Linked DNA regions of Homo sapiens: regions 2, 3, 4, 5 and 6 are each linked to region 1. The links are contacts of gene promoters, found by promoter capture Hi-C in blood cells and fetal thymus (Javierre and others, 2016). All regions are on one chromosome and are shown on one strand. The core of a region is centred on a gene start or on the middle of the fragment in contact, and the rest is flanking DNA. Distances in the headings are between cores, read along the strand shown. Region 1 holds the start of MBNL2 (muscleblind like splicing regulator 2). Region 2 has its middle 2.4 kb from the start of ARGLU1. Region 3 holds the start of TEX30 (testis expressed 30). Region 4 overlaps TPP2 (tripeptidyl peptidase 2). Region 5 overlaps TPP2 (tripeptidyl peptidase 2). Region 6 holds the start of FGF14-IT1 (FGF14 intronic transcript 1).

Evidence for each region. The method cuts DNA at HindIII sites, captures the fragments that hold promoters and counts their contacts. A CHiCAGO score of 5 or more calls a contact.
Region 2: a contact is called between a fragment that was not itself captured here and the fragment with the promoter of MBNL2 in region 1, in 5 of 17 cell types (total CD4 T cells, total CD8 T cells, naive B cells and 2 more). The highest score is 8.9, in total CD4 T cells.
Region 3: the fragment with the promoter of TEX30 here is called in contact with the fragment with the promoter of MBNL2 in region 1 in 1 of 17 cell types (non-activated CD4 T cells); the score reaches 5.3 in non-activated CD4 T cells.
Region 4: a fragment that was not itself captured here is called in contact with the fragment with the promoter of MBNL2 in region 1 in 1 of 17 cell types (total CD4 T cells); the score reaches 6.2 in total CD4 T cells.
Region 5: a contact is called between a fragment that was not itself captured here and the fragment with the promoter of MBNL2 in region 1, in 1 of 17 cell types (total CD4 T cells). The highest score is 5.2, in total CD4 T cells.
Region 6: a fragment that was not itself captured here is called in contact with the fragment with the promoter of MBNL2 in region 1 in 1 of 17 cell types (naive CD4 T cells); the score reaches 5.3 in naive CD4 T cells.

The regions. Positions count from the first base shown.
Region 1 is chr13:97,221,083-97,225,474 of GRCh38, forward strand. It overlaps MBNL2 (muscleblind like splicing regulator 2), which reads left to right and starts at 1,251. Exons shown (of 9, transcript NM_001382683.1): 1 at 1,251-1,449. RefSeq lists an enhancer at 1,273-1,332. The HindIII fragment of the contact is 4,024 bases long and covers 1-1,624 here.
Region 2 is chr13:106,568,342-106,572,733 of GRCh38, forward strand. No RefSeq gene overlaps it. Among named protein-coding and RNA genes, the nearest start is that of ARGLU1, 2.4 kb to the left of the region's middle. RefSeq lists an enhancer at 1-62. The HindIII fragment of the contact is 1,210 bases long and covers 646-1,855 here.
Region 3 is chr13:102,771,828-102,776,219 of GRCh38, forward strand. TEX30 (testis expressed 30) reads right to left here and starts at 1,959. Exons shown (of 6, transcript NM_138779.5): 1 at 1,855-1,959. RefSeq lists enhancers at 1,714-2,391, 2,392-3,069 and a silencer at 1,792-2,131. The HindIII fragment of the contact is 5,388 bases long and covers 1-4,392 here.
Region 4 is chr13:102,678,594-102,682,985 of GRCh38, forward strand. It overlaps TPP2 (tripeptidyl peptidase 2), which reads left to right. Exons shown (of 30, transcript NM_001330588.2): 30 at 1-1,365. Among named protein-coding and RNA genes, the nearest start is that of METTL21C, 14 kb to the right of the region's middle. The HindIII fragment of the contact is 3,772 bases long and covers 571-4,342 here.
Region 5 is chr13:102,600,914-102,605,305 of GRCh38, forward strand. TPP2 (tripeptidyl peptidase 2) reads left to right here. Exons shown (of 30, transcript NM_001330588.2): 2 at 3,880-4,008. Among named protein-coding and RNA genes, the nearest start is that of TPP2, 6.1 kb to the left of the region's middle. The HindIII fragment of the contact is 1,352 bases long and covers 1,862-3,213 here.
Region 6 is chr13:102,390,891-102,395,282 of GRCh38, forward strand. FGF14-IT1 (FGF14 intronic transcript 1) reads right to left here and starts at 3,629. Exons shown (of 4, transcript NR_036486.1): 1 at 3,464-3,629; 2 at 2,868-2,941. FGF14-AS2 (FGF14 antisense RNA 2) reads left to right here and starts at 3,688. Exons shown (of 1, transcript NR_036487.1): 1 at 3,688-4,392. It also overlaps a transcript of FGF14 not described here. RefSeq lists an enhancer at 3,535-3,764. The HindIII fragment of the contact is 522 bases long and covers 1,647-2,168 here.

The DNA.
Region 1 (4,392 bases), core at 1-2,500:
TTATGTTTTTAAGATGCAATGGCAAAATAAAAAGAAAGCATTCCATTGCATTCTGTTGCTTCATTACAGATGCGCTGAACAGTTGCTTATAAAAATCGTGCATTGGGTTCAACCTTTCAGATGAATAAAGGCTTTGTTCTGTCTTGGTCTCATCATGTAATCATCATACTTTTTTTTTCTCAAAATGTGGTATTTAGGGGAGGAAAATGTATGCTTGTTGTGTTTGCTCAATGCCATATGTTTTTGAGTTTTTGTTTTCAAGGCATACAGAAATGCTGTAGACTGGGAAATAAATAAATAAATAAATAAATAAATAACCCTTCCTAAACTTTCTCTTCTTCTGCTTTATCTCAGGAAACTCCAGCACCTCCTAGAACATCTTTTGTGGAATGGCACCTCATGGGGGCCCTTGGATCATGTACCCCTTGTATTCAACAGTAAACATCTTCCTATAATCATTGCTTCATTAACGATAATGTGAGCCAATGCACAGTATTTATCAAATGGCATCTAAGATGGTTAAAGCACACCTAATCCTCTCGTGGGTGCCTGCCAAGAGTAGAAAAGGGTAGTGTATAGATATCAATTTTATTGTCCAGCATTCCCTAATCGAAGTCCCAAGTGGTCTGAAAACTTAGACGAAAGATAAATGGGCCGCAGTAATTAACCACTGCAATAACAGATGTTATACAGGAAACCTGTGTGTGCCAGAGCTATAAGCATGTTTTGATTTTGAATACGCACTTGGGCTAGCACATTCTTCCTCAATAATGGAAATATGTAAATGTTTTGTAAGGTATTAACTGCCATGGCAGACGTTGAATTATTTTTCCTTTAAAAAACATATACATATGCTTTGTCAGATAGTCCAAGGACTTCAGTTTCATGTACAACCTGGATTTCTTTGGAATCTGCGGAGTTTCACATTTTCCCAAGTGTTCACGGTGAAGCTCCTGGCTTCGAGCTGGCTGTCTTCAAGGGTGTTTTCTTGAGCTACCCCTCTCTCTGCTCTGCCAATTATGTGCCACTTTGTCTTGGTGCTATGATTGCTTTCTTCTGAGAGGGAAATTCCTCTTTCATCAGTATGGATGCACTGTTTTTACACACTGCAAGTGCTGTGTTACTGTGTCAGTCATCCTATTAGGGCCAGTTTCAGACGAGTAGGGCTGACGAGCTGGCTGGGGATTGGCTGGCCCCGGCTGGGAGGGATTTGTCGGAAGGAAGGGCTGCAGCTTACAGCAACAGAGTTTAGACTGTCTTTGCTTCATCATCTGAAGGTAAAATTTTCCAGATACGGCAGACGGCTTTCAGAGTACAATAAACAGGGAATGAGAACTATTTACATGGAAGTTTCTTTCTCATGATGCGGTGGAGAAGCCTCGGCCACTTGGTTCTGCCAGATGTTCCTGGGGTTACTGTAAATGGGAAGGACAGGCAGAGCTAAACAAGGTAGGAGAATCGCCCCCCTTTTTTGAATGTTTAAAGAGTTTGCTGCAGTATGCTGCATTCCATGTGTGCTGCTTACGGGAGCCAGGGAAACTGGATTCCACTAATTCAATTGTAATACTTGCGGGGGACCCTGGAGTTTTACGTAACATTTTGATTTGAGAAAAAGAAATGGCAAAGCTTGAATCTATGCCGCCTGTTTGGGGTGAGGCAAGAAATCGAGTTTTTATGCAAAGAATCGATTCATTTATTATATTATTTTTTAAAAACCATTTGAATTCTTTGGAGCAATCTTATTTTCTTGCTGTGAAAAATTGTTATATTGCCATAGCTAGTTCCCAAATAGATAAAGTTTACATGGATCCTATTATTTGAAAACAGACTTGCAATTAAGGATTAAAAAAAAATTCATGGTAAATAATCATCGGTTGAATGTTTGGCCAAACGTATGTGTCTATTTATTAAAAATTAGGGACCTACCTAGCTCTACAATGCTACAGCTTTAATTGAGTTTCAAAAGCACATTTTAAACAACCTAGCAAGAGGTAGCTTTCTGGCAAGTTTTCGATACTGTAGTTCAATGTTTACATTTCTTTTCCTGGCATGTCTGAGCCTTTGTTTCCAGCTTAAAAGTGGAACCATTATATTCAAAAGTAAAGCTGGGTTAATAATGCTTACTGCAATTATCTGATCTTTATGCATTTTTAATGAGAACACACAGCCAGCAGAATAATTTAATGAGGGCAGGCTAGCTTTTAAAGCTGTGTTTTCACTATGCCGAACCATATCAACTTTCTCGCTGAGAAGCAGCAGTGAGAAATGATGGAGAAGATTTATTTTTAACACACTTGGCCCAGGAGAAGGAAAGGATATATTTGCTAAAGAATTCTTTCTGCCCTTTTCCGTTTTAAATTTCTGCCAGGCATGAGGAAACTGTGCTTTTTTGTTAGGCCTCGGAAGCATGTGTTTACAATAAATGTGTAACATTTTTAGAATAGTTAGCAAGCACTGAAGCGAAGAAAAAAATCTGACTTGCCTAACCACCACCACCTTGAATGTTCTACAAGAAACATTACTGTCCCTTTAAAAGACAAAGGTTAAGTGGAAAGCTATTTGTTAATTGGGTAATGTGTGTGTTTTGGGGACAATAAGGTTTTTAAAAAAGGCAGGGGGAACATTCTTATAATCTTTAAATAAGAGGAAGTTTCTTCAGCTATCCTACTTGTTTTGCAAGGAGCAGTAGAACTACTCATTTAAATAAGGGCAATGCCACGTAGATTCTTCTAGACCCACTGTTTTTACTTTCAAGGAGAAGTGCAGGACACTAGCCCAGAACTTCTGACGTCATCCCCCAACTATTTCTGCTGTGTGTTCCTTTATTCGAGCTTGTGGAGAGGAATATTTCTTTATGTCCTGGCCAGGAACATTCTAACTCCCCACTGGCAGGACTTAAGTTATGTCTTTATATTTTCGCCTGTCTTTTGTAAATTGTAAACCTGTCCCCTCATAAATAGGGCATCTTCTTGTACCTGCCACATGTCGGGCCGGTCAGCACAGGTTTTCTGCAGGGCTTCTGGCTGGGCTGGCAAAAAGCAGCAGGGAGCAGGGCAAAGCTTTTTTTCTGGCCTGACTCCCCCTTGGTGCAGCCCAGCGCTGCCACCTGGGTGGATGGTCCCCGGGGCCCTATTCCCAGTTGCTCCAGAGCCACTATTTAGGATCCAGGTTGTGCCACCAAGTTCAAGGCTGGTTGTGATGGTGAGAACAGCTGCTTTCATAGAAAAATCATCATGTCCTAGCACAGATGGCCCCAAGCAGGGGAAGTACAATACTGCAGGCTGCAAATCCATGTCACAGGTGGCAACCTTGGTCACAGAGATCGGGGGAAGGGTAATGTTTACAAAGGAACCTTTTAAAAAAGATTTTGACTGGAGCACATTGGAGTTCTCGGGAGTTCCCAAAGCTAATTTGTGTCTCCTCTCTGACTACTCACGTAGTTTTGAGCAAGTGCCTACCTTGATTTTTCTGTCTTTTAATAGAATTGAATCATACTTGCTACACTTTCCCTCATCATTTAGCATTTTGAGACCTTGACCTTTTACCAAAAAAAAAAAAAAAAAAAAAAAAGTTGTTTGTCTCTTGGCACATTGAGCTATTTAAAGTACAAAGGGATAAAACCTCGGTATTAAGAAACTGTTGGCAAACACCTTAGAGTATTAAGATACATAGTCATATACACAAAACCCTTCACTCTACTTTGTGCTCATGTAAATTTTTTAGGGATACTTTTTCTTAGTTCAACAAATGAAATTTCCAAGGAAATCAAAGCGTTGTTGTTTGCATTTTTTCCATCGATCTAATCTAATATACTAGAAGCTCTGCAAAGCACACTATTCTGGCCACAGGCCTTGTAGTGCCCAAAACATTTAATGCTGTTTTTCCTTTGACTTTTGTGTTAAATTTGTGAAAGTGGAGTAAATAAGAGAAAAAACAAGAGGGAAGGAGAAAAATATGCTTGTGAAATATACTGGTTAGGTAGCTTTACTGGTTAACAGCCTGCCTTCTCTCTGCTAGTTGTTTCAATTTGCTGTTGCTATGGTGAAAACAAATCAATATCACATGGCTACCAGCCAGTCCCGCGCTCAGGGAGTGCCATAGAAATTCAAGATCAGGTACTCAAGATTCCAAGCAAGAATTGGGAAAAGAGGATTTAGATGCTGAGCTTAAGAGAATTCCTTATAGTAGAATAAGTAGGTTCAATCTCTCATGCATTTTCTCTTCCTTTTTTCCTGTACTTTCCTACCGATAACAAGAAAAAGATGAAAAGGAAGGTATACTGATTTGTTTACATTTCCAAAATGACAAAACAGATTATCAACATAGAAATAGGTTGGCAACATTGCAAGGGGTGAAGGATTCTGATTCGGGAAAAGGTGGATAACTACAAGA
Region 2 (4,392 bases), core at 1-2,500, 9.3 Mb after region 1:
GGTAAGATGCCAACGCCTGTTGAATGAATTAAGCACGTTTTAGTGGGATTTAAGTCCGGCCTCGCAGAAGTTGATTGATTGCATTATTTTCTAGGAGCTGGTCTTGTGGGGCAGCCCTAAAATGTATCTCCAAGTGACCCTGCACTCATCACTTGCTGCCTTGGACTTAGTTTCCTCATTCGTAGAATGGAGACACCACACTTTCTGAAGTGCTTATGAGACTTGCAGGAGGTAAGTAGGCAGCAGGTTTTGATGAATGTAACCTAATGCTTACTATAGGGCTTAATGTGCCTTCTAAATGCTTTAATGTATTAACAAGTGCTTAATTCTTACAATTCTGAATTAAGTACTACTATTATCCACGTTTCAGAGATGAGGACCCTGAGGTCCACAGAGGTTAAATAAGGGTCACACAACCAGTAGGTGACAGAGCAGGGACGTGAACCTAGATCATATTGTGCAAAGCCCTTGCACATAACCAGCAAGCCCTCCTCAACCCTAGCCACGAAAAGCTTCGTCCCTATGTGGCACAACAAACTGTGTCATTGTTAAGACCTAAAAGGAAAAGGCAATGTTAATATTTGCAGATGACAGGAACCCTTGAAAATCTAGGTGCCTCAATTTTAAAATTGAGTGCAATAATAAAGCTTAAGTAAGTAGAAGAAAAATTAGAATTATTTGAATAAGCAAAAACATATTAAAAATGAAATAATATTTCCTCCACAATGGCAACAGAAACCATAAAATACTTAGGGATAAACTTTAACAAGTTACACAATCTTTATTATAAACCTTTACTGAAAAGGCAGTAATAAGGCCCTAGTAAATGTAAAACATGCTGTATTCTTAGGTGAGTAGTCAGTATCAAAAATACTGTCAATTCTTCCCAAGTCAAATTACAAAATTAGTGCAATTCTCATGAGAGTCCCAAATTCTCTTGGGGATATGTGTTTTAGAACTAATTAATTTTAAGTTTTATATGGAAGATCACATAATTAATTATCAAGAAAACTTGGAAACAAAGAAGAGTAGTGTATTAGTCTGTGTTGACTGCTGTAACAAAATATCATAAACTAGGCAGCTTATGAACAACAAATTTATTTCTCACAGTTCTGAAAGTTGGAAATCCAGGATCCAGGTGCTAGCCAATCTGGTCGCTGGTGAGGACCCAGAGATTCACAGATGACTCACAGAAGGCACCTACTCACAGTGCCCTCACATGATAGAAGGGGAAAGCTAGCTCTCTGAGCTCTCTTTTAGTGGCACTTCTAGGGTCTGAAAGTTTGTGTTCCCTCAGATTCATATGTTGAAACCTAATCACCAGTGCAATAGTATTAAAAGGTGGGGCTTTGGGATATTGATTAGGTCATGAGGGCTCTAACCTCATAACTGGAATTAGTGCCTATCTCAGCCCATTTCCACTGCTATAACAGAATACTTTAGACTGAGTGATTTATAAATAATAGACATTATTTCTCAGAGTTCTGAAGGCTAAGAAGTCCAAGATAAAGGTACCAGCAGAGTCAGTGTCTGATAAGAGCTTGCTATCTGCTTCCAAGATAGTGCCTTGTTTTGCTGGGTCCACAGAAGGGGACGAACACTGTGTCCTCACATGAGGGAAGGGATGGGAGGCAAAAGGGCAAAAAAAAAGGGGGGGGAACTAGGACACTCCTGTCAACCTCTTTTGTAAGGATACTATTCCCATTCAAGAGGGTGGAGCCTCATTTCTTAATCACTTCCAAAACGGCTTCAGCTCTTAATGTTATTATAGTGGATTTTAGGCTCCAACATAGGAATTCTAGAGAGACACATACATTTAAGCCATAGCAATGCCCTTATAAAAGGGGCCCAAGGAAGCTTGTTCACCCGTTCTTTACCATGTGAAGACATAGAAAAAGGTGTCATCTATGAAGCAGAGAGTGAGGCCTCACCAGACACTGAATCTGCCAGTGCCTTAATCTTGGACTCCCAGCTTCCAGAACTCTGAGCGATAAATTTCTGCTGTTTATAAATGACCCAGTCTGAGGTAGTCTTATAGTAGGCTGAATGGACTAAGATAGGAACTAATCCAATTCATGAGGGCAGAGCCAGCAGCCTCACCTCCTAATACCATCGTCTCCCAGCTGCCCCGCCTCCTAATACCATCGTCTCCCGGCAGCCCCGCCTCCTAATACCATCGTCTCCCGGCAGCCCCGCCTCCTAATACCATCCTGTCCCAGCAGCTCCACTTCCTCATACCATCATGTCCCAGCAGCCCCACCTCCTCATACCGTCATCTCCCAGCAGCCCCACCTCCTCATACCGTCATCTCCCAGCAGCCCCACCTCCTCATACCATAATGTTCCAGCAGCCCCACCTCCTAATACCTTTGTCTCCTATCAGCCCCACCTCCTAATACCATCGTGTTCCAGCGGCTCCACCTCCTAATACCGTCATCTTCCAGCAGCCCCACCTCCTAATACCATTACATTGGTGATTAGATTTCAACATCTGGGTTTGGGAGGGCACACAAACATTTAGACCGTAGCAAACAGTACCTGTTTGCCCTACACAAAATTGAATAAACTGAACAACAAGATTTTAGGACAGAAATAGGAAAACAGTGCAATAGAAGGATAGATCTATTCTTTTACTTCAGATACGTTCAAGTAAAATCACATTTAATATAGAATGTATAGAATTACCCCCATTATAGTAGAAATATTTCTGTCAATCTAACCATCTGTCTGTACGTATCTGTACCTATCTATCCAGTGGGAATGATATATATGGTTTATATATCCATATATGGTGTGAATATATGATATGATGTATAGATATATCTGGAATTTTGTTTATATATATGTATATTACATATATATATAATCCAGAATGATGTCTGTTTAATGATAAAGATAGTTATTTCCAATGAGTTAGTGTATAAATTTTCTAGAGCTGCCCCGACAAATTACCACAGACTGATGTCTTAAATGAACAGAAATGTATTCACTTACAGTTCTGGAGTCCAGCAGTCCAAAATCAAATGTCAGCAAAGTTGGTTCCTTTGGAGGCTCTGGAGAAGAATCTGTTCACTGCCTCTCACTTAGCTCCTGGTGCTTGCTGGCATTCCTTGGCTTTTAGTCCCTGTCTCCATCTTTACTGTACGTCTGTCCTCTTCTTATAAGACCACTGGAGATTGGATGTAGAGGTATAGGGGATTATGGAGCTTTTAAAAGAGGATGATATTGGGGCGGGCGTGGTGGCTCATGCCTGTAATCCCAGCACTTTGGGAGGCTGAGGCGGGTGGATCACAAAGTCAAGAGTTCAAGACCAGCCTGGTCAAGATGGTGAAACCCCGTCTCTACTAAAAATACAAAAGTTAGCCAGGCGTGGTGGCGGGTGCCTGTAATCCCAGCTACTCAGGAGGCTGAGGCAGAGAATTGCTTGAACCCAGGAGGCAGAGGTTGCAGTGAGCTAAGATCGGGCTACTGCACTCTAGCCTAAGTGACAGAGCAAGACTCTGTCTAAAAAAAAAAAGATGATATTTACCCTGCTCAGGCTCTGGCCATGTCTTTTGGCTGCTGCCAGGAAAAAAAAAAAAAAAAAAAAAAAGGAAAAAGTGCATGAAAGCCCTTAATTTACCAGGGATCATCTCTGAGGATGCATTGAAGGAATGAGGAACACACACATTTTATGCCTGCATTTTATAGTATAATTATCAAAATCTTGACATTTCACACTCCCTGAACTCACCTTATTTTCTCATGTATTTCTTTATTGACTATTTTTTGCCACCAGAATCCAAATTCTCGGCATCTTGACTGTTTTGTGTCCACTGACACCCTATGGGTTAGCTAACCTCGATAAATATATGCCGAATACACCTTGAAAGAAGAGAATTGCATGGTTTTTTATCCTAAGTATAAGTTTGGCTTCATTTGTTTTGTTTTGTTTTGTTTTGTTTTCAGACTCTTAAAATTTTTAGTTGCCTCCCTTCCTCCATTCCCTTCTCCAATAAAAGCATTTTCTCAGTTCATGTTTGAATAATTAGGATAGCCAAATATAAATAACACATCATTCAAATCCAGATCATTCCAAAGAACAATTTAATGTAAAAAATAGGAGATGCATGAATGTATCTTTCCTCCTTAATATGGTTTGGCTGTTTTCCCAACCAAAATCTCATTTTGAATTGTAATCCCCATAAACCCCATGTGTCAAGGGAGAGACCAGGTGGAGGTAATTGAATCATGGGGGTGGTTTCCGCATGCTGTTGTCATGATGGTGAGTGAGTTCTCATGAGATCTGATGGTTTTATAAGTGGTAGTTCCTCCTGGGTTCATTTCTTCTTCCTGCCACCTTGTAAAGAAGGTGCCTTGCTTTCCCTTCACCTTGGGCCATGATTGTAAGTCT
Region 3 (4,392 bases), core at 709-3,208, 5.6 Mb after region 1:
TTCACCTAAATCATCTTTCTTTAAGCTCCTTACACCCACCTTCTGCACCACACCACCTTCATTCCCAGTACCACCGCTGTCCAGTGCTGCCAGTTTCCGTGCAGTTTGAAGATTCTGTGGTTAATACAGGGTTTGCTAAGCCATACATGTTTTGGAGCCCGCTATTTGATTGCCAGCGTTTCCTTTCCTATTCTCCCATTGCTGGAGGTTCATGTTTGTTTTTAAATAGCCTTAATGTAAGTTTAGTGAAACTTCATGAAGGAGTAAATTTAGATGCATGTAAACAACCACTATCTTAATTTAGAATGCTTCCCTATTTTTTTTTTTTTTGAGACAGGTTCTCGCTCCGGCGGACAGGCCGGAAAATTGAGTGGCGCAATCATAAGCTCACTGAATCCTCGAACTCCTGAGCTCAAGCGATCCTCTCGCCTCAGCCTCTTGAGTAGGTGGGACTACAGACGCTCACCACCACGCCCGCTTATTATTTTTAAATGTTTTTGTAGAGACGAGGGTCTCCCTATGTTTCGCAGGCTGGTCTTGAACTCCCGGGCTCAAGCGATACCCCCTGCCTTGGCCTCCCAAACCGTTGGGATCCCAAGGCGTTTGCCACCTCTCCCGGTCTGCTTTACTTCTTTTCAGACTTCACGATGCACAGTGTGTTCTTCACGGCAGCTGCACACATGCTGGTTTTCTTCAGAAACACGGAAAATGCCCCATAATGCAATCCCCAAGCAACCTGCTCTAGGTCATCTGGGTTTGTTTTTTTGAGACAGAGTCTTGCTCTGTCCCCCAGGCAGGAGTGCAGCGGCGCGATCTCGGCTCACTGCAGCCTCTGCCTCCCGGGTTCAAGAGATTCTCCAGCCTCAGCCTCCCGAGTAGCTGAGATTACAGGCGTCCGCCACCGCGCCCAGCTAATTTTAGTAGAGACGGGGTTTCACCATGTTGGCCAGGCTGGTTTTGAACTCCTGACCTCAGGTGATCCACCCGCCTCGGCCTCCCATGGTGCTGGGGTCAGGCGTGAGCCACCGTGCCAGGCCACTGTCGTCTGGGTTTTCATCTCTGGCTTCAGGTTCAGAGAGGGCAGGGTTTGAAGCCTGGCCCGGCCTCAGTGCCCTCAATGGCGATGGTGAAGATGACCGGCTAGAGGTGCTGCGCCCACGAAACGCCAGCTCTAGTGGCGTCCGGAGCGCCGGCTCCACCGGCTAGGCGGTCGGCGGAGTTCTAGGACGACAACTACTCACAAGGGCTGGGCGATCACCTCCCACGCCACGGGACGGAGACGCCACAGCCCCTTCAACTTTCAGTTACAAACGTTCGTGCCCTGTTACGTCCACAGCATTAAGCTGGCTGTCGTGGGGCAAACAAAAACGTTGAGTCCGAGTCTTACGGGGGGTCGGGTCAACAACCCCAGCAAACATGGAGAGAAAATTCAAAGCGGGTCTCACGGGCGTGCGGGGCTCGGCGGCGCTCGGGGCACGGGATCCGTTCTCTCCGCAAATGCGCGCTGCCGGGGCTGCGCCGCGGGCTGCCCCGGTCGACCCCTCTCAACTCCGAGGCTACTTCGAGCCAGTCACCCGGGACTGGCTGACGTGGTCCAGGTTGGCCCCGTCCGGCTCTCCCCGCCCGTACCAACCCCACATTCCGCCCTCCTACCCGGCAAAGCGGACGAAGCCCCCACCGGCTGGTGCCCGCGGGCACCGAACTTAGCGGAACGCCTCCCGGCTCGGACCAGACGCCCCTGAGGAGTGACGCCCGCGAGCCTCAAACGTCTCAGGCGGGCCTGCCGGGTGCTCTCCCCGTCTCCCAGGAAGCCGCCCGTCAGCCGGCGGCGCCAACCGCCACCGCCGCACTTACCCGGGAAGGCAAAAGTGGCCGCGGGCACCCAACCGCCGTCACTCCCTTCAGGGAGCTGACTAGCGCGCTCGAAGCGACCGCCTCGCCTGCCCCGCCACAGCGTTCGGCTACGACGCACGCGCGCGCAGGCCACGCCCCCCGGGTGCGCGGGCCGGGCCGCAGAGCACGCCGGGAGCGTGGGTCTCCCAGCCCGCCACATCCCAGGGCTGTACGCGCGGACTAGCGGAGCTAGGGGAAGGTGCCAGGGTGGCCGCCGCCTCAGTAGCACGCGGACGGCTGGAAAGTCAGCCCCCGTTTCCGCCTCACCCAGGATTGCTCCACTCGGGGCCTTTCCGCATCCCAGCCACCACTCCATTCCGAGGCGCGATCAGCTCTGACCAGTCTTCCTCACACCCATAGTCGATTCGTTACTCCCGTTAAGGTCAAACGCTGACAGAAACCAGCCGCTTCGCACACTTCTACATGGGGTCAAGCCCCCTGTTATCTTTGCGGGGATGATTGTAACAATCACTTAAATGGTCGCTTCGTACCATCTTGCCCCCGCCTGGGCCTTGTCGGCGACGCCGCAGCCACGTGGATGCTGTGGAAGCCTGTCCCCTGGATCTTCCAAAGGCTCCGCGCTCATTGCCACAGCCAGCGGCCGGCAGTGGCCTAGGCTGTTGCACGCGATCGGTCCCCCACATCTCCCCTCTCCATCTGGCTCCTTTCCCTGGAAGCCCAGGGCAGCCCACACTTCGCTGTCCTCACCCCCACTCACCAGGCGGGACCCCACGACGACCGGCTTTTGTCCTGGCTGCTCCCTCCCAGCGTGGGCCGCGTCTCCTCGGGGTCGACAGGGCGCGTGGTTTTCACAGCGAGGCCTCCCCTGATCACCTCCCCGCTCTTCCTGTCCTTCCCCGGTCACCTCACGAGCTATGGATGTATCTGTGTCTCCTCACTGCGCTATAAGCTCCCAGGTGAAGAAAGGGTTGCTTTTTGTAAATTTTTGTTTTAACCGTGAACCTCTTGTGTATGAATAATGCTCAGAAAAAAAAAAATTTCTTAAATGAATGAATCTTCCCCAAGCCCAGTGCAGTTGGCACCTGCCCTCTTTTCTGTCACGGTACATACAAGGAAATACATTCCACAAAACCACATAGTCGCTGTCATTTATCACAAGTGTTTCCCCAAATTACAAAGTCTTAATACTTCTTTGTCTCCTAATTTTTTAGCTGTGTTTTTAAAAAACATTTCTTTACATGCCATAAAATTCACTCATTTGAAGTGTACCATTCAATCATTTTCAGTAATTTTAAAACCATTTGCAACCATCACTATAATTTAAGAACATTTCCATTATCCCCCTGAAAAGTATTTGCACAGTTATAGTTGAGGTAGGAGATCAGCAGGACTTTCCAAGCACTGATCACCACCTGCTGAGCAAAACAGGATCTGGTCAGAACAGGATGCCCTAAAAAAACGGCCAAAACTGCCCTAAAGAAACAGGCCCAAGCCAGCTAAAACCAGGATGGTGACCAAAGTGACCTCTAGTGCCCTCACTGCTCATTATACACTAATTATAATACATGAACATGCTACAACACTTCCACCAGCACTCTGACAGTTTACGAATGCCATGGCAATGCCCAGACCTTACCTTATATGGTTTAAAAACGGAAGAATTCTCAGTTCCGGGGAACTCCCCACCCCTTTTCTAGAAAATTCGTGAATAACCCACCCCTTATTTAGCGTACGATGAAGGAGTAGGTATAAATATAGCTAGCCAGTGGCCGGGTGCCCTGGCGCATGCCTGTAATCCCAGCACTTTGGGAGACCAAGGCGGGTGGATCACCTGAGGTCAGGAGTTGGAGACCAGCCTGGCCAACACGGTGAAACCCGGCATCTACCAAAAACACAAAAATTACTCAGGCGTAGTGGCAGGCACCTGTAGTCCCAGCTACTCGGGAGCTGAGGCAGGAGAATTGCTTGAACCCTGGAGGCAGAGGTTGCAAAGCCGAGAAGAGCGCACCACTGCACTCCAGGCTGGGCAACAGAGCGAGACTCCGTCTCTCTCTCTCTCTCTCTCTATATATATATATATATACATACACACACACACATATACATATGTGTATATATACACACATATAATATATATCCGTACTATATATAGTATAAATACTATGTATACATATATAGTATAAATATTATATATAGTATTTATGTGTGTATGTATATACTATATACATATAGTCATATAGTATAAATACTATATACATATAGTCATATAGTATAAATACTATATATGTATATATGTGTATATATACACATATGTATATATAACATGTATATGTTTATATACGTATGTATATATTATATGTATGTATATATTATATATGTGTATATATGTGTGTATATACATATATATGTATATACACACATATGTATGTATATACATATATATGTATATGTAGATACATATATATGATATGTATGTATATACATATATATGTATATGTAGATACATATATATATATAGCTAGCCAGCAATCCATGAGT
Region 4 (4,392 bases), core at 1,207-3,706, 5.5 Mb after region 1:
TATGACATGCATGATAGGTTTTGGAAGGTAACTTTTAACTGCAAACCTATAAAGTACTATTTTTTATTTTATAAATGAACAGGGTTTTAACGTGCTCAACTTTAATTTTTTTCAATTGTATGAAGGCCTTAAAAAAGCTACATTAAGCGTAGCTAAAATTATTTATTGGACTAAAAACTAACAGAACTTCATTTCCAGAATTTTTTTTTTTTTTTTTTTTTTTTGGCAAATGTTTACATTCAATTAAGGGGAAAAAGTAGAACCAGCACAAATGAGTGGCAGTTGCTGGAGCATAACTGCTTCAATAAATCTTCATCTTGGGGTAATTACAGGCAAGTCATTTTCACATCCTCTTGAGGTTCAGAGCATCAGAATGAACTCTATGAATACATGTGTAAGTGCCAGACAGCTGAATCTTTATCAGGTATTGTAAAGATACACATATGATATGTTTATTAAAATTGAAATAATGTAAAACACATGAATAAATTTGCAAAACCAAGATCACAGTACACCATATGCACTCTGGTACCTTAATTTTTTTTTATAAATAATAAAAGTGAATATTGAAGCTTCTTAAAGTTGGTCTTAATTTTTCATAAATAAAATTTGGGGTTATAACAGAAATAATACATTAAATACATAGACAAAAAAAGTTAAACATAAGATAATCTATTTTACAGTGTTTCTTATAGGCTTACAATTATTTGAATGTATTTCCAGTTCTTGTATGATTAACTTTTGTGCATATCTAACTTTTTATTATTTTTATCTTTGGCTACTGCACGTGCATCTCTCGTCATTCCTCCACCAAATAAACAGACAAAAGTAGTATTGAAAAGTTTACAGTCCCTTATCTAATGGCAAATTGTGTGTATGTATGATTTTTTTATCTTGTTCTCTTAAGATTTACTGCTGCTTAAAATTACTACCAGTAATCCTTAGTCACTCCCAACTGTTTCTGCTGTATCTCATGAAGTGTTAGAGCGTTTATGAGAAACATAAATACATGTATAAGCATATTGGTCACACCTTCTGGGCTAGCTAGGGTCCAAAGTCTATCCATGAAAGCTACATGCATGTTCTCTCTCACACACTCATGGACTTTCACCTGCACACACATACAGGTCCCCATTTGTATAGGTTTAGTCCAGTAAGAGAATGGAGAAGCTCAGTAAAGGTAGGATGACTTCCCAAGGTTATACGGCTGATCAACTGTTGGAAATTAATTACAGACCTTGCTTTACAACCCAGGTTTTGCTATTTCAGGTAAGTACTACCTACAGCAGGAATCAGTAACGTTTGGCCCTTTAACCCAAACTGGACTGCTGCCTGTTTTTGTAAATAAAGTTTTATTGGAACAGAGCCATGCCTATTCATTTGTGACTCCTGTAACTGGAGGCAGTTATACAAAGCTGCCATGTTAGCTCCTGTTTCCTGTCTGGTTCATTCTGCATTTCTGTGGTGACAAGTGGACCCAAGTAAGCTCTAGAAGATGTTCTCAGTAAAATCATTACTGTTTCTATGTGATTACATTAAAAATAATACAAACAGTAGGATGGTACTTCAAAAAGTCAAGCAGTTTTCCTGTTTCTGGTCACAGTAGCCAATGTTTGCACACCCACTGAAAACAATTGAAAAAACTAGGTAAAAATAACTTTTTAAAGAACCATTAGAGACAGTACAGGGTATGTGCTCAATACTGGTTCTGTGGCCCCTTTCCAATAATAAGAGGCAGTTCTCAATTGTTACTGGGAGGAGTTTTGCCATCTCATGGGATTTCTTTCCTTCCTCATGTTAGCATGCTTTCTGGGAGAACTTCTCTTTACCGCAGAAGAGCCCCACCTGCTTCTCTTCTTAGGCACCACAAATCTCAAACCCTTTCTCCCTCCACCCCCAGCTCTAATGAAATGTGCAGGGACTGGATGACTGGAAGCCCCAGCCTGGGTCTCTGCTGTCTAATCCTGGCTCAAGTACTGACAAGTCAAATCACTTGACCCCCATGAATCTCCTTAAGAAAATCGTGGTGTTGAATCAGTGTGTCTATTCCAACTAAAAAAATTATTTCATTTGAATTAACTGAGTCTTTGCCTCCACTGTGTTTCGTTCTCCGTCCTCCCAGCAACCCAGCATTCAGAATACATGGGTCTTTGTCTTTCCCTTTAGGATCTAAGTCAGAGAAGCCTTCATAGGGAGATAGATAATAGGGATTCTTGCTATCTCCCCTAAAGGGGAAGGGGAGGAAACCTTGAATGGAGAGAATTTTTTGAGGAATAAAGAAGTGAGAAACTGAATTTCAAGAGTCTCAGTCTGAACATAGCAAACCAAGGGGTGAAGAATTTATCAGTAGTCATGGGTGGTAAACTGAAAAAGGGAAGCTGACTAAGTAAAATCCCGGAAACCAGAAGAGGAGGATGTAAGTGACGCTCTAACATGAAGGGTTTTTGGGCATCCCAATCAGCAGAATTTCTACCTGCCTTCTGATACCCTGAGACAGCCAGGTCAGGATGTGATGGTGCAGTACCTGCTAGCACTTTGCTGCAGAATGCCTCTGCACTCAGTTCTGCAAATGTACTGTTTTAGTTTCATTTAAAACCCCTTTTTTTGTGAGAAGATTTCAAACATCAGGCAAGTTTGTAATGAATTCAAGCTGAGTTCTCTCGAGGGACAAACATGTATAACTACAGTTCCAGTGTCAGTGCCAGCTGTCAGGTTTTCACTGTGCAGCTAGGGCTGCCTGCATACCCAGTCATGTAAACCAAATTCACTCTAGAATCGGCCAGGTCTTACCAAAATGCAAATAGAATACAAAGCAACTGGAAATATATTTCGTAATTTCATTTTATGTGTGATTTTAAAAGTTAAGCTACTTCAAAACTCATCTGTCTAACTTATTTTCACTAATAAGTGTAACTTGCCTGGAATTTGGCAGATCTAAGCTGGGCTTGGGCTAGATGGTTTCAAGCCTGAGTCATTAAGATGTGAAATTTACAGAAACAACAGAGGATTGAGGAACAAGTTAAAGGACACTCTAATGGTGCAGTCTGCATAATGCAGTAGTATGAAATTCTACAAAAAACCAAGATGAAAGGAGGATCAGATTTAAGAGACATACTAATCAAATTTGGACCTGATTGGGTTCTGATTGAAACTAAAAATAAATGTCATGACACTTACAAGACAATTGGAAATTTGAACACTACATATTTTAACGTATAATGTTACTTATTTAATATAAAATTATATTTTAGATGTGATAGTATTGTGGTTACGTATCTTGTATAGATACAACCTGAATTTACAAAAGGAATGATTTGTCTGATTTGATTCAAATTAATATGGGAGCAGAGAAAGGAATGTTTTAGATTAACCACGGTTTTCCATGAGTTGAAATATACTTACTTAGCAGAATATTGAGCTATAGTTGCCATATAATAAACTGCACGTATTTAAAATGTACAGTTAGTCTACTTTATTTAAAATTTTCTCTAATAGTGTAAAGAAAAAGGTGACTAATCAATTCAGCCATTCTAAAAGGACACTTCATTTACAAAATAAGCATAGGATCATATTCCTTTGCCCTGGAAATGTGAAAAGTTTTTAAGAAGACATTTAAAGGAACAAGTTTCATTGCTGTAATTTTCTTAATAGATTCCTCTACATTGTATATTTGAAAGATAGAGGATTTGAAAGAAAATTTGCATAACATTTGGGACAAACCGTGGGTTTTTTAACAGCTTTATTGAAGTGTACTGAACATATGATAAAGTTTAACCATTTCAAGTGTGCAGTCTAATGTCTGGAATGCAGCCATCAGCACAATCTGGGTTTTTAGCACTTCCCAATCATCTGGAAGAACTCCCTCAAGCTCATTTGTAGCCAGTCTCCGTTCCCACCCCTAGCCTCAGCCAGTGAACTGCTTTCTAATCCTATAGTTTTTCTAGAAATTTTATATACATGGAATCGCAATATGTAATTTTTTGTGTCTTCTTTCGCCTAATGTAATGTTCTTAAGTTTCAGCCACTTTGGGTGTATCTGTTCATTCCCTGTTGCTGCTGTGTATACTGTGTTGTGTGATGTACCACATTTTGTTCATTCACCAGTTGATGGATGTTTGGATTGTTTATATTTGAGGCTATTAGGAATCACGCTGCTGTGCTGCTGTGAACGTTTGTTTACAAGTCTTTGTATGGGCATATCTTTTCAAGTAATGTTGTGTAGATATCTAGGAATGAAATTGCTGAGATGTGGTATATTTCTTTTTACATTGTAAGAAACTAGCAGACCATTTTCAAAATGACTATCATTTGACATTCCTACTAGCAGTGTGTGAGACTTGCAAGCTTTGCACTTCCTCATCAACACTTGATGATATCACCTTCTTAACTTTG
Region 5 (4,392 bases), core at 1,288-3,787, 5.4 Mb after region 1:
ACTCTGTCACCCAGGCTGGAGTACAGTGGCACAGTGGCAGGATCACCACTCATTTCAGCCTCAAACTCCTGGGTTTAAGCAAGCCTCCTGCCTCAGCCACTGCAGTAGCTGGGACCATAAGCATGTGCCACCATACCCAGCTAATTTTTTAATTTTTTTGTAGAGACAGGGTCTCACTGTGTTACCCAGACTGGCCTGACCTCTATTATTTGTTGTCCTGTTTTGTCATCATCTCTCTACTTACTTTTTCTTTCCAACCAATAGTAACCTTTACAAAAGCAAAGATTGTCTTATTTATATTAATCATTATATTCTTAGAATAAAAGTCACTGGTTAATATTTATTAAATCTTTATTTGCTTAAAAGAATATTTTCAGTACCTTTCCTGAAATTTTAAGTCAACTCATTAACTTTGTGTTGTTTATGATAGATTGCAAACTTCCCGCCATTTGTTCTGGTCCTCTCTGCAAATGTCCTACCTTTTGTTCTGGTCCTCTCTGCAAATGTTTGGCAAATCTTCCAACCTTCACTAACTCCTCTACCTTACTGGTTACATTGAAGACATACACTAACTTAGATTCTTGACATTTTGGGAAAAGCTTTGGGCAATTTCTGTTTCATCCAGCCAACATAGCCCAGTAAGCATTTCCCAGTCTCCCACCCCAGGACCCAGGATTTAATACCGAAGCTCTTACCGATACTAACTGCCCATGCTTTCAGTCCCTCTTTCCCATGTGAAGCCTCCCCCTTCTCAGAGATGAGTGATATAGTTCCATTGTTAGCAGTTCAGCTTCCTCCTTTCCTTTACTTCTCCCAAAACACCATGGCAAATCCTCAGGGGGTTTGCCTTTTTAAAACCCTCCTCTGACCCTACATTTCTGTTTTTGTCTTTTTATGTCTAGTGAAGTGGTTTTCTTTATCTAATATTAAAGTAAGAAATTCATGGATAGGATAATTGCATGTATAATAATTTGTAATGAAAATTTGTGTGTGTAGGAGAGAGATCCTTGTAAGTAAAGCATGTGGAAATAGGTGACAAATAAGCCATTAAATCCCATTAGGCTTTTTTCCTTTGCTAATATATTGATAATGAGGTTTCTAATGAGAGATCTATCTGACTTGTTAGTGCTCTCTTGTTATTCTTGATCTCAAGTCACTCAGGTTTGCTTATTGAGGTGAAGATAGGTGATTTGGGTTCTTAGTGCTACTGTATATCTTTCAAATTTCATATTGGAATACATTTTAAAATAGGTGATTTTCTTATATGATTAGTACATGACCTAGCTAGTTTTAATTTTATAAAGTAGTATCAACTTAATTTTGTTTCCATTTTTATTTTGGTAGATTTTCTTACATTTTTCTCTTTTTTAATTATATTTTTGAGACATATAGCCTATCTCTTCAGAATCAGTATCTGATTTAAGTTTTATAGTTGTATCAGGGTTTGGTATGATTCCCACAGTGATTTTTTTTAATTATGACTTTGAGTTTTCTGAGTATTAGAATTCTTATTTGTTACTATTATAGGACAGTTCCCAAGAAGTAAACATCCAACTTGAGAATTACCATACATGAAAATAACAGCTGTGCCTGGGAGGCCTTTATGACCCCTTCAGCTATCAGGCCCTCAGTTGTTCCATGGCAACAAGATTGAAATGAGATTTGGGGTCCACCAACCACCCATTTGCTTTGTCCGGTAAAGGAAAAAAAAATGTGTGCTTTTGTTTTCTCCACATCGAGAATTTCCCTCTCCTTCTTCAGGGTATACCTTAATTACAGAGCTTGGAGGTTATTGCAGAGGAAATACTTGTGTTGGGGTGAGGGGCATGTTGGTCAGAAAGACCCAGAGCAGTGGACATTAAGCTTTGTCGTAAAGAGTGTGAATTCTCCAGGTGGAATTGGAGTCTGAAGACTGTGCTCTTCCACTTTACTGACAGTTTCTACGGTTTTTATGTTTCTGTTTCTTTCTTGAGGATGGAGTTTTTTTGTTTTTTTGTTTTTTTGTTTTTCGTTTTTTGTTTTTTTTTCAGTCGTTGTGTCTCTGTTTTCTGGCTGATTCCTGCTGGTAACTCAGTACATATTCCTGAATGCAACAAATTCCCTTTGGAAAGCCAGCCAAGAAAGAGCCCAGAAATTATTTTCCCACAAAAATGTGTAAAAATATATATTGTTACTTGTAGCAATCATGTTATGGCTCAAATGAAAATTTGTGGACTGGCAAGAAATCAAACCTTTGAAAATCAGTCTTAGTGCTAAGTAACTTGTGTCTTGTAATTCAGTAATGAAGTATTCATTGAATGCCTGACAGGCACTGCTAGGTAGTGGGTATATGTATGTTCGTGAATAAAGTAGACATGGCTCTTGCCTTCATGGAGCTTTCTATTCTAATAGGGGGAACAGATGAAGATCACCTACTTGTATCATTAGAAATAGAATTATGTTCTGTGAAGGAAATGAGGTACAGTGAGAAAAAATAATCCAGTTTAGGATGGCAGCTACCTAAAGGAGGTCATCGAGGAGGCCTTTCTGCAGGAGGGACTTTAATAGAAAACTGAGAGAAGATAGAATCCTGTGGAACAACTGAAGAGATAAAGAATTCTAGGCAGAAGGAACCTGTTTAAAAAGTCATGAGGCAGGAAAAAGTTTGGCATGTTTCAGGAATTGAAAGGAGGTTGGCGTGGTTAGACTCCTGAGTAACGGGGTGGCAGGGGTCAGATGGTGCGAGGCTTTTTATGCGAGTATTCTGAGTGCTCCATGAATACATTGATGGGCTTAAAGGAGAGGACTGATAAAATACAGCTTGTTTTAATACAGGTTGAGTATCGCAAATTCGAAAGTCTCCAATGAACATGTCCTTTGAACTTCATGTCCATGATTTTGGAGCATTTGGAATTTTCAGGTTAGGGTCACTCAGCCTGTATTACTTTTGATGGGGCCAAGAGTGGAAACTGAGGGACCACTTAGGTAATTCACCTCATGGAGGCAAGAGATGGTGGTGGTTTGGAAAGTTAGGATAGTGGTAGTGAAAATGCAATGGATTTGAGCTCTCTTCTAGACAAAGAATTAACAGGATTTCCTGTTAGCTTCGCTGTGAGGAGTCAACTGAAGTAAAGAATCAGAGGAGGATTGTTAAGTTTCCAGTGTGAACAGCTGGGCGTGGGGATTCCTGGGATGGCAAAGCCTGGAGAAAATCAGGTGGTGGGGGGCATGTTAAGCTTGAACTTTGTTGCGTTTGAGGTGCTAGTGTGGCATCCAATAATGGTGCCATTAAATGGTACCATTACTACTAAACATTTTTTCCCCCTAAAGCTCTAAACTTGTCCAGCCCACAGCTCACCATCTTTAGATCTTTTCTCAAATGTTACCATCTCAGCAAGGCCTTCCTTGACCAGCCAAACTTATGTTGAAAACCCCACACTGACCATCTCCCTTCCCTGCTTAATTTTTCTCCATAGTTAATTTTCACCATCTGACATGTTCTTTTTTTTCCCTAATACCCAGTGTGATAGCACATCTGACATGTTCTTTATTTTACTTTGTTATTAACTGAACTGCTTTCTCGCTATAAGATCGTCAGGGATTTTTGCGTATGGATCACTGCCATATCCCCAGCACCTAAAATAGGGTGTGGTCTATAGTAAATGCTCAGTAAATATTTGTTTATTGAATATATGAAACGACTTGAAGGATTCTGTAGTGTTTCCACGATTAAATTTTCTTACTAGTATTTGTTCAGGCTTTTGGCTTAAAACAGTTCAGTTCTCTTTTTTAAGTGAATGTAGATTTTGTATATACACACACATATATATGTGGATTTGCATTGTTTAGGAATAAAAACCTAAAATCTACCATTCATATTTTAATTTTCTTAATTTTCAGGTTACAACTGATGGAAAACCAAAAATCGTTGATATCATTGATACAACAGGAAGTGGCGATGTGAATACTGCTACAGAAGTAGAGCCAAAGGATGGTGAGATTGTTGGCCTTTCAGGAAGAGTGCTTAAGGTGAGACCTTTTGTCTTCTTTTTGAATTTTTTTTTTTTTACTCTTGCCTCAAAGCATCTAATGTTTTTACCTTACATTTGGTGGTGGTATTAGTTATCCATTGCCACATATCAGATTACCTCAGAACATCCTGGTTTAAAATGACAAATATTTATTACCTCGGAGTTTCTGTGAGTCAGGAATCTGGGTGTGGCTTAACGGGGTTCCAGTCGCCCTGGAGGTTGCAAATGGTTAGCCATGGCTGTGACTTCAGCTGAAGGCTCAGCTTGGGAGAAGAAGGGGAAGTTTGTTTCCAAGCCTACTGGTGGGTCACTGGCAGGCCTTGGCTCCTTGCCATTGGGCCTCTCCGCAGTGCTGCAGTACCTGGCAGCACCTTCCCTGGGG
Region 6 (4,392 bases), core at 658-3,157, 5.2 Mb after region 1:
ATTATATAATCAAATAATGCAGTAGATCCACATCACCGTTCTTTTACATGTTAATTTGAAGTACAGAAAGAAAAAACTTAAGCCGAATAAATATCATTTTGGGTAAATGTTTCAAGTTCAGACAGATGTTTCTCATTTACTCTCAGACAACTATTTTATTATTTTGGGTCTATTTTCCTAATGTAATGAATGTAAAAGAGGTAAATCCAATTGAATACTAATCCTGATCTTGCCTGAAGAGTAAGTTGATGACAAAATTTTTGAAAAACATGACTAAAAAATATGTAAAAGGACAAAATCTAGAATCGGATAGTACAAATACAGGGAGAAGGAGACAAAGGGATGAAATATCAGTACTGGAAAAGCACTTTGCTACAACAAAGGGCAAGCGGTCTGACAAAGCTGGGCGGACTTTATGGCTGCATATCAGACCACATACTAACTATAGCATTCATGTCACAGTTAGTATCCCCCATACAGAGTCACATCTGCCACACATGTACCAGAATGGCCTCAGTACTGTGTTGTTTAAAATTATTCCCAACATTTTAAAAGAAAACTAGAAAAGAGATAATAATAAGCAATAATGATGTAAAATTTTTATCCTATATCAAATTTCTTAACTGCATCATTAAAATATCTCTAACATTTGGTACTGATCTCATTAAAAGTATTTCCAATATTTAACAGTCATTATTATTTGTCTGAGATGTGAGGTATTTTATGTTACTTGTCATGTGAGTTGAAAAAATTTTTAAAGGTACAAGAAAAAATAATCAAGTTAATGGAAAACATCACTTCTCAGGAAACAAATCAACTCATTTAGCAATGAAGGAGGAAAGAGCATATTGTGTTACTGCTTTCAATTTGTCCCAACAATAAAATGCTAAGGCCAAATGATGGTTACTACTGAGTGCTTACGTAGAAAACTGACTCAGTTCTCCTAGCAGACAGGGTCCTTTCTTTGCTTAAAAGTTACAACACCTGGTATACAGCAGCAATACAACTAAAGAAGATGAGTTTCAGACTACAAATAAGTGGCTGTTGAAACAAAAAGGACTACAATTATGAGATATGATTTCTCTTTTAGTCTTTAAGCCTTCTTATGTTCATATTTCTTAAAGTACAATATTATACCATGTGCTCCACACAGGAAGTGGAAAGAACAGATATTACAATCCCTCCCAAGCTACACCTTTAAGATGCAGCATTACAGATAAGGTTACCACACACTTCAGTGATCCACTATAATTGTGCAGACAACAAAATGCTACAGGAGGAAAAAAAGGCATTTTAACTACATTCATTCCTATCTAAAAAAGCACGTGTGCAAACTTACATATGTAAATTCAATAAAGTTCATACTTCCTTCTCTTTTCTTGCCAGACCTGAATAGTAAATCTGAAAACTTGGCTTTTAATTGCACTACTTGACTCCTCAAACTGAACAAAGTATTGTGTCCATAAAAACATCTGCTATTGACAAAGAATTGTACATAATCGTTTAAAAAAATCATTTTGGCATATCTTTATTGTAAAGCATTTTTTCCCAGTCCTAAGGATTTTCGGGTTTGAAATCAAGATGAACTTTTTATCCCACAGCAACTCTCCCAGAACTGTCCATTTAAATTTTAATCTAGAAAGAGAAGCTTGTCTAAGTCTCCTACTTGCTGTTAAAAGCTACCTCGGCCCCTCAATATAAACAGTCAGAAGACAGCCAACCATGTCTCAAGAAGATGGAAGTGTTCTGTTGGCAAATGGCCAGAAGACTAGCTCACCAGAACTGTCCAAATCAAAAACCTGTAATCAGAAAATTCCAGACTCCTCCTTCAACTTCCTTCCCAAATTCAAACTGGCCACTAAGATGGATGGACTTCACTTCCTCTCTAGTGCCTGTCACTGCCTTATTCTGGACCGCTCACCACTGCTCACTGCTCTTCCTCCCTGGTCTTTCCACCTTCAACCTTGCCCAACCCAGAGCTGTTTTCCACGCTGTAGTCATAATGGTTGTCTAAAGGGTAGATATGATCATGACACAGAAGAGAGCTCACGATCTGTGCCTCACTACCTTGCAACCCCACTCACTACCTGCCACTCCCTAGAAACACCCTCTATTTCTCAGTTGTACTTGATATTCTCGGTCTGCACCACAATCTTTGACGCCCCCAAAGCTTAAAGTATGCTTCTTTCTCTTCCTTGACAGCCTAACCAGTGCCTTTACCACGTGGCTAACTCTTAGTCATTCTTCATGACTCAGTCTGAGTTTTATTCCCTCCAGAAACCTTTCCATGCCCCTCTTCCTTGGCCCTATAGCACCTTGGTCCACCTACACAGAATTGTTCACCACATCATAATTGATCCTGTCTTTTGTCTTTCCTGCTAATTCCTTGAAGGAAGAACTCTTCTTCACCCCTGTATCTCCAGCATCAACAGTTCAAACACAGCAGCACTTTTTAAGTGTTTACTAAGTTTTGTTTTTTGTTTTTTTGAGATTGTAGTTACTGAAAAAGTGATAAAAAGCACGTGGACCTAAAAGAAATAATTCATAAATTTCAGAGTTGTAATAAACTCTGAAAATAATCTTTTTCAACTTCTTAATTTACAAATGAGGTTTATAAAAAAGATTTAAGAAAGATTTTTCCCAATAGCATGGATATGAGAGAAGGAAAAATAAACTAGTGAAGATACCCTCCCCTACCCCGAAAATCTTAAAACTGTCTAAGGAAAAGGTATCTGGGGAATATAATGGATAAATGGAATGCCATCTATTTCAGCACCAACCACACAATTCTATGAAGCGCATGAGGAGCTCTTCCTAGTGTCACCAGTAAAATACGCGTTTCTTCACCCAAGGCTCAAAGCTTCTACCTGTGTTTGTGCCTACAATTCCAAAACTGGCTCTTGGAACAGTCGCTTCCTCCACTGGGAAGGAGTTGCCACACCTGTAAAAGGAACAGGTTGTTTGTGATCGCTAAGGTCAACCTCTTATCTCTGATGGTCTCTGAATTTAGAGTACAATTTAAATATATAGTTAACATAGTCCGGGAGAGATACAGGGAAGGGGTGAGGGAAGTTTACTTACAATCAGGACTGGGTGTGAACGTTATGGGAACCTAGAATATTAGAGCTGGGGCTGATCTGGGATTACTCTAATCAATATCCTTCTTGTAGTAGCCGAGGGGACTGAAGCCCAGAAAACTTCAGGACCCGCCCAGGGTCTCCCAGTAGCTAGTGTGTAAGCTGAGACCAGAACTTGGCTCGTTCTCTCCCAGTCCTGAGCTTGGGCAGAATCACCAGCAACGCCAGCTCCCTTCCCTTTCCTTCAGATGGGTCTCGGGTCCAGAGCTGGCGCCCGCTAGCGGGAGGCCAGACCGGGAGGGCCAAGGCAGCCACCTGTGGCTTTCCCATCCCTCAGGTCCAGCAGTGCACATGGGGTGCCCCCGCGTCAACGCCGGAGGAGTGACCTTGCAAACCCGCGCCCCGCGGGCGGCAGAGCCGGCCGCTCACTGCCCGGTCCCCGGCCACCACGGAAGAGCGAAGATCTCTGCCAGGGCAGGAGCCCTAGCCCCGACCCGCGCCCCAAGTCTCTCCCGCGCGGCGGCTTCCGGCCGCCATGGTTTCCATAGCAACAACAGCACAAGCTGCCGGGTCCCAGAGACGCCCTAGGGTCAGAGGTCATCTCCGTGGCAACGGAAACTTCCCGCGCTACGGCGGCTCCAACGGGCCGCTTCCGCCGCATTGCGTAGCGAAGCCCCCGGCGAGCCGAGGCTGGGAGCGCGGTGATGGCCGGTCCCCGTGAGCAGAGGGCAGCGGCGGCGGGACCGGGGACTCTGGGCCAATGGGTAAAGCCAGGAGGAAGCCCGTGCCTGGCCCGTTGGGCTCCCTCCTCCTCAGAGCCGAAGCAGTCCACACTCGGAACCCAGCTTCACCCGGATTACCGAGGGGTTCCACGCCTGGAGGCAGAGCTGCAGCGTGGGCCCGCTCGCGGCTTTGCAGAAAACAAATAATGACACACTTCTCTGGAAGCCCGGGGCCTGGGCCCAGAGCCGTGGCTTCTGCCAAACTTTCTGGTCCCGGACACCAACTCCCCGCCTCTCAGCCCGAGGCCACAGCGGCCCAGCACCCTGCACCTTTTAAAGTGGCTCCAAAAAGGAGAAAGCCAAATAGATCAGGGTGGTAGGCGCGAGTGCAGGGAGCTGCGAAGTTGGAAGATTACTGCTTTTCAAACTGCCAAAGAGCAAAATACTAAGCGAGAAACTCCGTCCAAAGCAACTGGAACTCGAGGTTCTTTACTAATGAGAGTTCCAGTTACCATCTTCAGAGAAAGGAGCTCAAAAGAGGGAGTTTATTTTTTGCGGAATGTCTTCCTTGTTAAGAAGAAAATTAAAGATTA